Regions from separate parts of the Homo sapiens genome. Here region 2 is linked to region 1. The links are contacts of gene promoters, found by promoter capture Hi-C in human tissues and cell types (Jung and others, 2019). All regions are on one chromosome and are shown on one strand. Each heading gives the region's core, a stretch centred on a gene start or on the middle of the fragment in contact. The rest is flanking DNA. Distances are from core to core; before and after follow the strand shown.

Evidence for each region. Contacts are between HindIII fragments. The study calls those that stand out against the background at their distance.
Region 2: a fragment that was not itself captured here is called in contact with the fragment with the promoter of VASH2 in region 1 in 1 of the 25 tissues and cell types used here (small bowel).

What each region holds. Positions count from the first base shown.
Region 1 is chr1:212,947,970-212,953,178 of GRCh38, forward strand. It overlaps VASH2 (vasohibin 2), which reads left to right and starts at 2,572. Exons shown (of 8, transcript NM_001301056.2): 1 at 2,572-2,771; 2 at 3,370-3,849. The coding sequence starts at 3,574. RefSeq lists enhancers at 2,558-2,707, 3,228-3,277. The HindIII fragment of the contact is 12,745 bases long and covers 1-5,184 here.
Region 2 is chr1:212,754,906-212,760,114 of GRCh38, forward strand. The region is part of intron 4 of NSL1 (NSL1 component of MIS12 kinetochore complex); the gene reads right to left. Among named protein-coding and RNA genes, the nearest start is that of NSL1, 34 kb to the right of the region's middle. RefSeq lists an enhancer at 4,499-5,209. The HindIII fragment of the contact is 3,788 bases long and covers 413-4,200 here.

The DNA of each region.
Region 1 (5,209 bases), core at 1,322-3,821:
TTTTTTTTGAGACAGAGTCTTGCTCTGTTGCCCAGGCTGGAGTGCAGTGGCGCCATCTCAGCTCACTGCAAGCTCCGCCTCCCAGGTTCACGCCATTCTCCTGCCTCAGCCTCCCGAGTGGCTGGGACTACAGGCGCCCACCACCATGCCCGGCTAATTTTGTGTATTTTTAGTAGAGACGGGGTTTCATCATGTTAGTCAGGATGGTCTCGGATCTCCTGACCTCGCGATCCGCCTGCCTGGGCCTCCCAAAGTGCTGGGATTACAGACATGAGCCACCACGCCCGGCCTATATACTACATTTTCTTTATCCACTCATTAGTTAATGGGCGCTTAGGTTGGTCCCATATTTTTGCAATTGCAAATTGTGCTGCTATAAACATGCATGTGCACGTGTCTTTTTCATATAATGACTTCTTTTCCTTTGGGTGGATACCCTGCCATGGGAATGATGCATCGAATGGTAGCTTTAGCTCTACTTCTAGTTCCTTAAGGAATCTTGCTGTTTTCTATAGTGGTTGTACTAGTTTACATTCTCACCAGCAGTTTTATGCATGTTCCCTTTTTGCCACATCCACATCAAAATCTATTATTTTTTGACTTTTATGACAATTCTCGCAAGAGTAAGATGGTATCTTATGGTGGTTTAATTTGTATGTCTCTGATAATTAGTGATGTTGAACATTTTTTCATATGTTTGTTGACTGTATATCCTCTTTTGAAAATTGTCTATTCATGTCCTTTGCCAATTTTTTGATGGGATTGGTTTTATCTGGCTGATCTGTTTGGGTTCCTTGTAGATTCTGGATACTGGTCCTTTGTCAGATGCACAGTTTGTGAATATTTGCTCGCACTCTGTGGATTGTCGGTTTACTCCGCTGATTATTTCTTTTGCTGTGCAGACCCTTTTTAGTTTAATTAGGTCTCATTTATTTATTTTCATTTTTGTTACATTTGCTTTTGAGGTCTTAGTCATGATTTCTTTGCCTGAGCTAATGTCTAGAAGTGTTTTTCTCATGTTATCTTCTAGAATTTTTATGGTTTCAGGTCTTAGACTTAAGTCTTTGATCCATCTGGAGTTGATTTTTGTGTAAGGTGAGAGACGAGGATCCAGTTTCATTCTACATGTCCACTTCAGCCTTTTGAGTAGCTGGGACTACAGGTGTGTGCCACCACATCTGGCTAATTTCAAAATATTTATTTAGTAGAGACAAGGTCTCGCTATGTTGGTCCAGTCTCTAATTCCTGGCCTCAAGTAATCCTTCCTCCTCTTTCTCCCAAAGTGCTGGGTTTAAAGGTGTGAGGCACCACGTCTGCCCTATTCTCATTATTGAATCTATAAAGTTCTTGGCATGGGCTCTGTCTCAGGGAGCAGTGCAGGGCTAAGTCCAGAATCCAGGTCTCCTCACCCAAGCCCTGGCTCTCAACTACCCCTCAGGGGTCTCTGCCCTCCTGTGGAAGAGAAGTTCCAGTTCCATGACAGGCAACTTGTCAGGATAAGCATCCAGAAACTGACCCGCCATCAGTGGCACTTTGACAACTGTCTTCTTAATTCAAGGTTCACTTAGCATAGGTCTCATAACTGCTTTGCTCAGAGCTGGCCTGCTGGCCTGCAGTTTAAAGAGAAAGGATGCTATGGCCAGGATCCTCAGTGTCACAAGAGAGGAAGTCAGGGAATCACAGAACCTTACAGCCAGAACAGACCCTGGAGAGCGGGAGGTCTGCTCTCCTTTCAGAAAGAGAAGCTAAGGCCCAGAGCAGGGAAGTGGCTTGTCCAGGGTCACACAGCTGAGCAAAGTGACAAACCTGGACCAGGAGCCAGCCTTCAGGTCAGCAGTCTGGTGCTCTTCCCACCTCAACCTGCTCTCCTCTTTCTTAAAGAAAAAGAAAGAGAAGGTGTTTCAGTAGTGAGTGTGGGATAGCCACCCACTTCACCATGGTTTGGAAGCATCTCTCCATCCCTCCTCTCACTCAACAGCTGTGGCAGAACAGTCAGGGCCTGCCTGACCTCTTGAGTTTTATTGTCTCCTCTCAACTTGGGCTTAAAGGGACTTTATTAACCATGACTAATACCAGAGGATCCAAAGCTGCACCCACTTGTTAATTTTGAGGAATTTTTAAATGCGGGATTTAAAAAAGATTTAATTTCACGCATAGGTATGAACAGCCCCTCATCATCCCAGGTAGAGGATGAACAACTCATCATCCCGGGTAGAGGCAGGTAAGTGTGTCCAGCGTCCCTCAGGGAATGCTCTTCTGATGCCAAACCCTCTGCTTCCGCGGGGTCACTTCTCGGGTGGTTTTGTTTCTCCTCTGCTTCCACAGTTGCAAACCCTCGAAGTGCCACGACCCCTGGGGAAACTCGATCTTAAGTCCCATGGCCAAACGCTCCAGCCCGCGGGGCTCTCAGGACACCACAGCGATCGGATTTCGCGTGGCCGCCAGGCTCCCCCTACTCCTGTCCCCTCCCGCCAGAGAACCCCTGGAGCCAATCAGAGCGTCGCGGAGCCCGGGGTTGTAGAGTCCCGAGCCCGGGACCCGCCCCTCTTTGTTGCGGTGGCCAATAGACGCATTCGGAACATCGGCGGCTGCCCGGGTGACTTGGTTATATGTCACAGAATAACATTCGAGAATGGGACATGGAATGAGGCGACGGCCCCAGCAAGCCCCAGCAGCCCCAGCCCCAGCCCCAGGCCCAGCAGCAGCAGCAGCAGCCCCTGCTCTCCCGCCGCCCGGAGAGGCTCTGCAGCCATGAAGCCAACCGTCCCGAGGTAGGATCTTGGAGCTGCCGCGCGCCCTTCCTGCGCGCCGCCCGCCTGCAGCCAGTCCCTCCCGGTGATAGGCGCTGGAACTCGGGGAAAAGGGGGCGGATGGAGCTCTTTCCACTAGATCCCCGCCGGGGTCCGGGAGGGCTTCCTGGAAGAAAGCGGGCCGCCTTGCAAGCCAAGGCTGCTGCAGCGCCCTCGCGCCAGCTCTGGGCGCTCACATGCCAGCACGTTCGTGGCTCCCCTCCTCTCTTGGCCACATCTGAGGACCCAGGAATGTGTGGAGCCTTGCGGGAACCTCCTGTTCCTTCATGCTACACAAGCTGTCTTTCTTCTCCCCACATCTTGCGCTCCGCATCCCCCAAGCTCCTTGTGCCCCTCCATCCCCAACCCCCCGGGTTTAGGTGTGTGTGAAGCTTCGTGGCACATTTTGAGCTGCCTTTCTAGGTAATCGCAGGGCTGGAAGCCCGTCATCGATTCTCAGGGAGGCTGTCAGCGTGCAGGGGGGAGCGGGGAGTGTCGTGGAGACACTCCGGGACCCCTCACTCGGTTCCGCTGTGCGTCCACTTAGCTGTGGTGTCAGCTGTGTCTCCGCTGATTTCAGGCACCGCCGGTAAGCAGGGAGCCTCCGCGGAGCTCCCGCCGCCGCTCCCCCTTGGTGAGTCCTGCCGCAGCGAGAGGCATGGAGAAGGCCGCCCCCGCGGGGCGCTGATCCCCTCGCCGCGCCCGCGCGCACACGCCCCCCGCCGCCGCCGCCGCTGCCGCCGCCGCGCGCCCCCAGTACCTCGCTCCCCGCCCAGGCCCCACCATGACCGGCTCCGCGGCCGACACTCACCGCTGCCCCCACCCCAAAGGCGCCAAAGGCACCCGGTCCCGGAGCAGCCACGCGCGGCCCGTGAGCCTCGCCACCAGCGGGGGCTCAGAGGAGGAGGACAAAGACGGCGGGGTGCTGTTCCACGTCAACAAGAGCGGCTTCCCCATCGACAGCCACACCTGGGAGCGCATGTGGATGCACGTGGCCAAGGTGCACCCTAAGGGGGGAGAAATGGTGGGCGCCATCAGGAACGCCGCCTTCTTGGCAAAGGTCAGTGGCTTCCAGGGCGGAGTTGGGGGGCTGGGGGTAGGTAGGCAGCGATGGGACCGTTTCAGCCTATACATAGCAAACACAGGCAATCTCCATTTTCCTAGTCCTGCTACAAACTCCCTTCCTCTCCCCATTCCTTCCTGCCAGCCCTTTTCTAATTGAGATATTTAGATTGGAAGCCTAAGAAATGGGGAAGGGAGAGGTAGCGGGCTTGCTATCCTGGGACTGTGTAATTGGATTGTGCCAAGGTGTCTTTGAAGCTCCAGCCAAACTCTATTATTTACTCACCCCCACATACATCCTCCTTCAGCAAAAGCTAGAGCCACCAGGTACCAGCGATGCCAAAGAATGCACAGACCCCAGGGATCCCACCCTGCTTGTTCTCTTTGGAGTGTCTTGCTCCTCCTCTGCTCCCCTCTTCCCCCAGCAAATGATTTATTAAGCTGTGAATGAATTTGAAATCAACCAGTCAGACTTCTCAGTGTGAATAATTTCCAGACTTTTTGCCAGTTTTTTTTCTTTTCTTTCTGGTTTTTTTGTGTGTGTGTGTGTGACAGTGACTTTCACCTCTGAAACTTGCAAAACGGTGAACTCTCTCTCTCTCTTCCCAGCTTATTTGTGCTCCAAGAAAAAAGAAAGACTTTTGGCTGAGACTTAAAAGGGACTTTCCAGTACACATGATGAATTAGTCTCACTGGATAGAAAAAGAGGATGAGGAGTGAAACTCTCTTTTTGCCTTGGAGAGAAGCCAGTGAGCCATTTGGGTTTGGTGGCTAAGGATATCTTTACCGAGGGAGGGAGATGTACCCTGGTGGGAGTAGATACGTTATATGAAACATCAAAATGCAAACTGGGGAGAAATGCTGCCGAGCCTCGGGGTTATAGCGTGGCGGATGGTTTCCCCTGGACCCTGGGGACGCTGGTACGGCTGAGAAGATTCCTGGGCAGGTCTAGGAATGCCAGACTTGAGACCCGGAAGGCCATCTGGTTGATTCCCCAGCCTGGTGACAGCTGAGCATCTGAGCCTGCAGGCCAGAAAGCTGTGTGTGTCCTTGGAGAAGTGACAGAGCCTCTAAACTTCCTGCTGCAGTCAGTTACAGTGTTCTATTACTCTGCTGGTCAAGGAGATCTTCATTGTGCCCAACTAGAATCTTGCCTGCTTTAGTGTCAACCATAATTACCCTTGCTGAGTTCTTGAATATGAGAACAACCTTTGTTCCTGGTTTGCAGTTCTGACTTGAGAATTTTTCCTCCAGTGAGGAGCCGAGAGCCCTTAAACTTGGAAGAAAAGTGACCACAAGGAAAAAAACGCCTGTTCCTACTGTCCCATGCTGCCTTTCTTAGTAGCACCCGTACCAAC
Region 2 (5,209 bases), core at 1,057-3,556, 190 kb before region 1:
TGTCACACTGGGACAGAGGCCCTCTGTTGCCAGTGTTAAGATATGGCTCCAGCCTGGGATTGTTTGGGGCCAGATGGAAGGCAACCAAACCTACTAGACAGAGGGAGTGAAAGCAGTGGTAGACAGATATGCACATGAAAAATTCTAGTCAAGAAGCACTTGCAAATCAAAAGTCTAAAATACATGAAGAAATTAAAACCATGAAAGACAGCCAGTATAACCAATGTCAGGGAGAGGAATTTACTGCAGATGAAATGAAAATAGAGCAATATAAAAATGACTTTAAAATGCTACACAGCTCCAATAGCTAAAGAAAATCATAAGACATTGCAAAAGAAAAATAGGTTATAAAATAAAAACATAAAATACAAAAATAGAAGAAATGAGAAAGAAGCAAAGTTGAAGGATTAGGTTAAAGATTTTCTAGAATATAGGAGTCCTCAGATAAAAGTATATATGGAGATGTTAATGGAAGATGGGAGAAAAGAGGAATCTAGCAAAACCAAATAATCTCTCACAAAAAACAAAAATACATATATAATATTATTTAAATAAAATTGTCTCTGTGTATATAAGCAAGAAAAAAATTACCAATAAAAACCATGGAGTTGAACTATGTTACATGTTGAGTGAAAAAAGAAAAACAATGACAGAATAAAATGCATTATGTAATATTTATATAAACAACTAAAAAAACCCCTGTGTCTACCTATGTGCATACAAATGCATTGATAAAGATCTAAAATTAGACACAGCAAACTGATAATAGTTGCCTATTTGAAGATGTGTGGGATGTGACAGATTGGGAGGCGAAGTTATGGTATATTTCATATAAATATGAATATGTATATATTTTCATATATATCTATATGTAATTATTAAAAATTTTACATTAAGCTTGCATTTATTAAAAGCACAAGAAATACAATTTAAAAGATAACCACAATTTAAAACAATAAGGTTAGAGCTACGGCAGTCGAATGGAGGATGTCTACCATAAACTTAAGCTAGGAAATTGCAGATAATTTGAACACATGAATAAATTTTCTGTAAATTATGCCCCCAAAATGTCCAGTGCATATTTATTCCTGTAACAATTATATAAGCACAGAAAAAAGGATAAATGAATTCATACCAGGTTAATGTTGGATATCTAAAGGGGTGACAGGAAGAGAGAGAAGAAACCAAAAACAAAAAGTAAAAATACAATGCTATCCTTGTTGGGTTTTTTTGAGACAGGTTCTCACTCTGTCACTCAGGCTGGAGTGTAGTGGCAGGACCATAGCTCACTGCAGCCTTGACCTCCTGGGTTCAAATGATCCTCCCTCTGCAGCTTCCCGAGTAGCTGGAACTACAGGCATGCACCACCATGCTTGGCTAATTTTTGTATTTTTTGTAGAGACGGGGTTTTGCCATGTTGCCCTAGCTGGTCTCAAACTCCTGTGCTCAAGCGATCAGCTTCCCAAAGTGCTGGGCTTACAGGTGTGAGCCACTGCATCCGGCCGACTTTGGTTTTTAAAAGGGACAATGTAATATGTAATTCAATCCTATTTATATAAAATTATGTATTGTTTGCAAAAATATAAATATTTATTGAGTGTACCATGTCAGAAAATAATCTTAAGAGTCAGGGGCTGGGCGCAGTGGCTCATGCCTGTAATCCCAGAACTTTGGGAGGCCGAGGTGGGAGGATCACCCGAGTTCAAGACTTTGAAACCAGCCTGGCCAATATGGTGAAACCTTGTCTCTATTAAATATGCAAAAGTTAGCCAGGTGTGATGGCGGGTGCCTGTAATCCCAGCTAGTCTAGAGGCTGAGGCAGGAGAATCACTTGAACCTGGGAGGTGGAGGTTGCAGTGAGCTGAGAGCGTGCCACTGCATTCCAGCCTGGGCGACAGAGCAAGGCTCCGTCTCAAAAAAAAGAAAAGAAAAGAAAAAAGAGGGAAAACTGGGCATCCCAAAGTTCTTGCTCACAGGGAGCTTACAATACTGTGGGGAGGGAAGAGGAAAATAAGGAGAAATTATATAATATCTGTAAGTGGCAGAGAAAAATAAAGCAGGTTAAAGGGATACAGTATGATCAAGGGAGTCATAAGAGAATCTGACACAGGTTGTAAGGTGTATCAGATGAAGTGACACTTTGAACAGAGAGCTGAATGAAGTGCAAGAGTCAGGCAGGTAGTTTCGGAGAGCAGTTTCAAATACAGGGAGTTGCGAGTATGAAAGTCGTAGGGCCAGTGTGTTCTTGGTATGTCCTGAAATAGCAAGAATATTAGTGTTAGTGGAGCACAGTAAGCGAGGGTGAGATGGTAAGTGAACACTGTCAGAGATGAGATCAGAGAAGCAGCCGGGGACCATATCATTGAGGGCCTCTTAGACCAAAGGAATTATAATGGGGAGCCACTGGAGGGCCTTCAACAGGGAGTGACATAATCTGATTATGCTTTAAAAGAAATTGTTTGGATGCTGTGTGAAAAGTAGAACTGGATGGAAGGAGACCAGGGTGTTAGTCTGTTTTATTACTATAAAGGAATATGTAAGACTGGGTAATTTATAAAGAAAAGAGGTTTAATTGGCTCACAGTTCGGCAGGCTGTACAAGCATAGCACCAACATTTGCTCAGCTTCTGGTAGGGCCTCAGTGAGCTTTCAATCATGATGGAAGCCAAAGGAGGAACGGTACATCCATGGCAAGAGATGGAGCAAGGATGTGGATGTGGGGAGGTGCCACAGTCTTTAAAACAACCAGCTCTCAGGTGAATTCAGAGGGAGAGCTCACTCATTACCACAAGGAGGGCACCAAGCCACGGATGAGGGATCTGCCCCCAAGACCCAGACACCTTGCACTAGGTCCATCTACAACATTGAAGGTCCCATTTCAACCATGAGATTTAGAAGGAACAAAACATCCAAACCATATTAATCAGTGAGAAAGCTATTATAGTGGTCCTAAGCGAATATGGTGACATGGATAAGAGCAGGAGAGACAGATTTGGTTGGTAAGCAGCAGGATTTGAAATATGTTTCCAAGGTAAAGGCAGCAGGATCTACTGATGGACTGAGGATGTACAGGCATCATGCAATATATCATAATACTGGTTACTGGTCATAAACATGCTAATAGTGTTTATCTCTGGGCATATGATTTCATGTGATTTAAACTTGTTTCTTATGCTTCTAACATTTTTGGAATGTGCATGTATTGTTCATACAAGCAAGAAAAAGCAATAATATTATTTTCAGTGTGAAATAAATCAGAAAATGTACATATCAAACACCATACTAGAAAATAAACATCTAGCTATACTGTGGTAAACTTCAGAGCATTAAGAATATAGAGAAAATCCGAAAAGTCAGAAGAGAAAGAACAATATCTATAAAGGAATGGTAATCAGATTCTCAAGACACTGCTCATCAACAATGAATGTCAGGCATCCAGATTAGAAAGAAAAGAAGTAAAATATCTGTTTGCAGATGACATGATCTTTTATATATAAAATCCTTTAAAACATCCATTAAACAACTATTAGAACTAATAAATGAGTTTAACATGGTTGTAAGATACAAGATTAATATACAAAAATTAATTCTATCTCTACACAGTAGCAAAGAAGAAACCAAAAATAAAATTTAAAAATAATTCAATTTACAAGGGCATCAAAAGAATAAAGTATTTAGGAATAAGTTTCACAAAAGAAGTGCTAAAAGCTGGAAAACACTGTTGAAATAAATCAATTTCCAGATGGAAAGCCATCCATTATTCAGGGATCAGAAAACTTAACATTAAGATAGCATTACTCTCAAAGTGATCTACAATTTCAACACAATTCCTACCAAAATCCCAGCTGACTTCTTGACAGAAATTGACTGACTGATCCCAAAATTCATATGGAATTTGAATGTAAGGGATCAGAAGAGCCAAAACAACCTTGAAAAAGAAGAACAAGGTTGGAAGACTCATACTTTCTGATTTCAAAATTTCTTACAAAGCTATAATAATCAAGACAGTGTAGTAGTGGCCTAAGGACAGACAAAGATCAATGAAACAGAATTGAGAGTTCAGAAAGAAATCTACATATTACAGTCAACTGATTTCTGACACAGATTCCAACACCATTCAAGCATTTTCAACAAATGGTGCTTAAAACAACTGGATATATACATACAAAAGAATGAAGGTGGAAAACTCTTAGGAGAAAGGCAAGCATAAATCTTTATACTTTTATATTAGACAACAGTTTCTAAAATATAAAACTAAAACCAAAGCAACCAAAGGAAAAAAAAATAGGTAAATTAGATTTTGCCAAATTTAAAATTTCTGTGCTTCAAAGAACATCATCAAGAAAGTGAGATGGGGAGGGGGCTTCAAGATGGCTGACTAGGGGCACCTGGCACCTGCCTCCTCCACAAAGAAGGACTAAACAGTGGGTAGATAATCACATGTCAAAGACAGCATCCAAGAAAAAACAGTGGAATTCAGCAGAACAGTGACAGGGAACAACTGAGGCATGGGAAGAAAGGGAAGCAGGGAAAATGTAAATGAGAGATCCCACATTTCTACTGCAGAATCCTGCAGTACTAACCACAGGAGAGCCCCTTGGCCCCTGCAGGCCCTAAGACTAGTATAGGGAGCTGTCTGGAGTCCATACAACATTAATTCCAGAGAGATAGCACTGGGTACCTCACATACCCCCAAGGCCCAAGACACCGCAGCATAGCACCATTTTGAGAATTCAACCCCCACCAGACTGTATCCTTCCCTAGGGCCCAAAAGCCCCTACATCTCCACATCCCTGGAGCCTTGCTGACATCCCCACTGCATCCACCTGGAGAGCTGCAGTGGCACAACACTGACTGAACCCAATAGTAAAACCAGGTCCCCGGCACTCTAGCCTACACAGTGTCCTACACCCCAAGGAACCAGCAGTGCAGTGCACCAGGGAGGCTGCCCGTGGGACAGAGGGAGCTGAAGCGCACACTCCTCAGAGCCTGAGAGCCATTTCCCTGGGGCCACCCAGCAGCAAGGCTACTGCGCACTGGCATGTGCCTTTAGTGTGCCTAGGGACAGGCCCACCCAGATGCTGTCCTGGGATCCTGATAATCACCCTGCCCTATCTGTCATGGTGGGTGTGTGAGCACATCAAGACAACAGACCACCAAGACAACAGACCATCGCCAGTGCCCAATCATACTGTCCAGGGCCTGGGGAT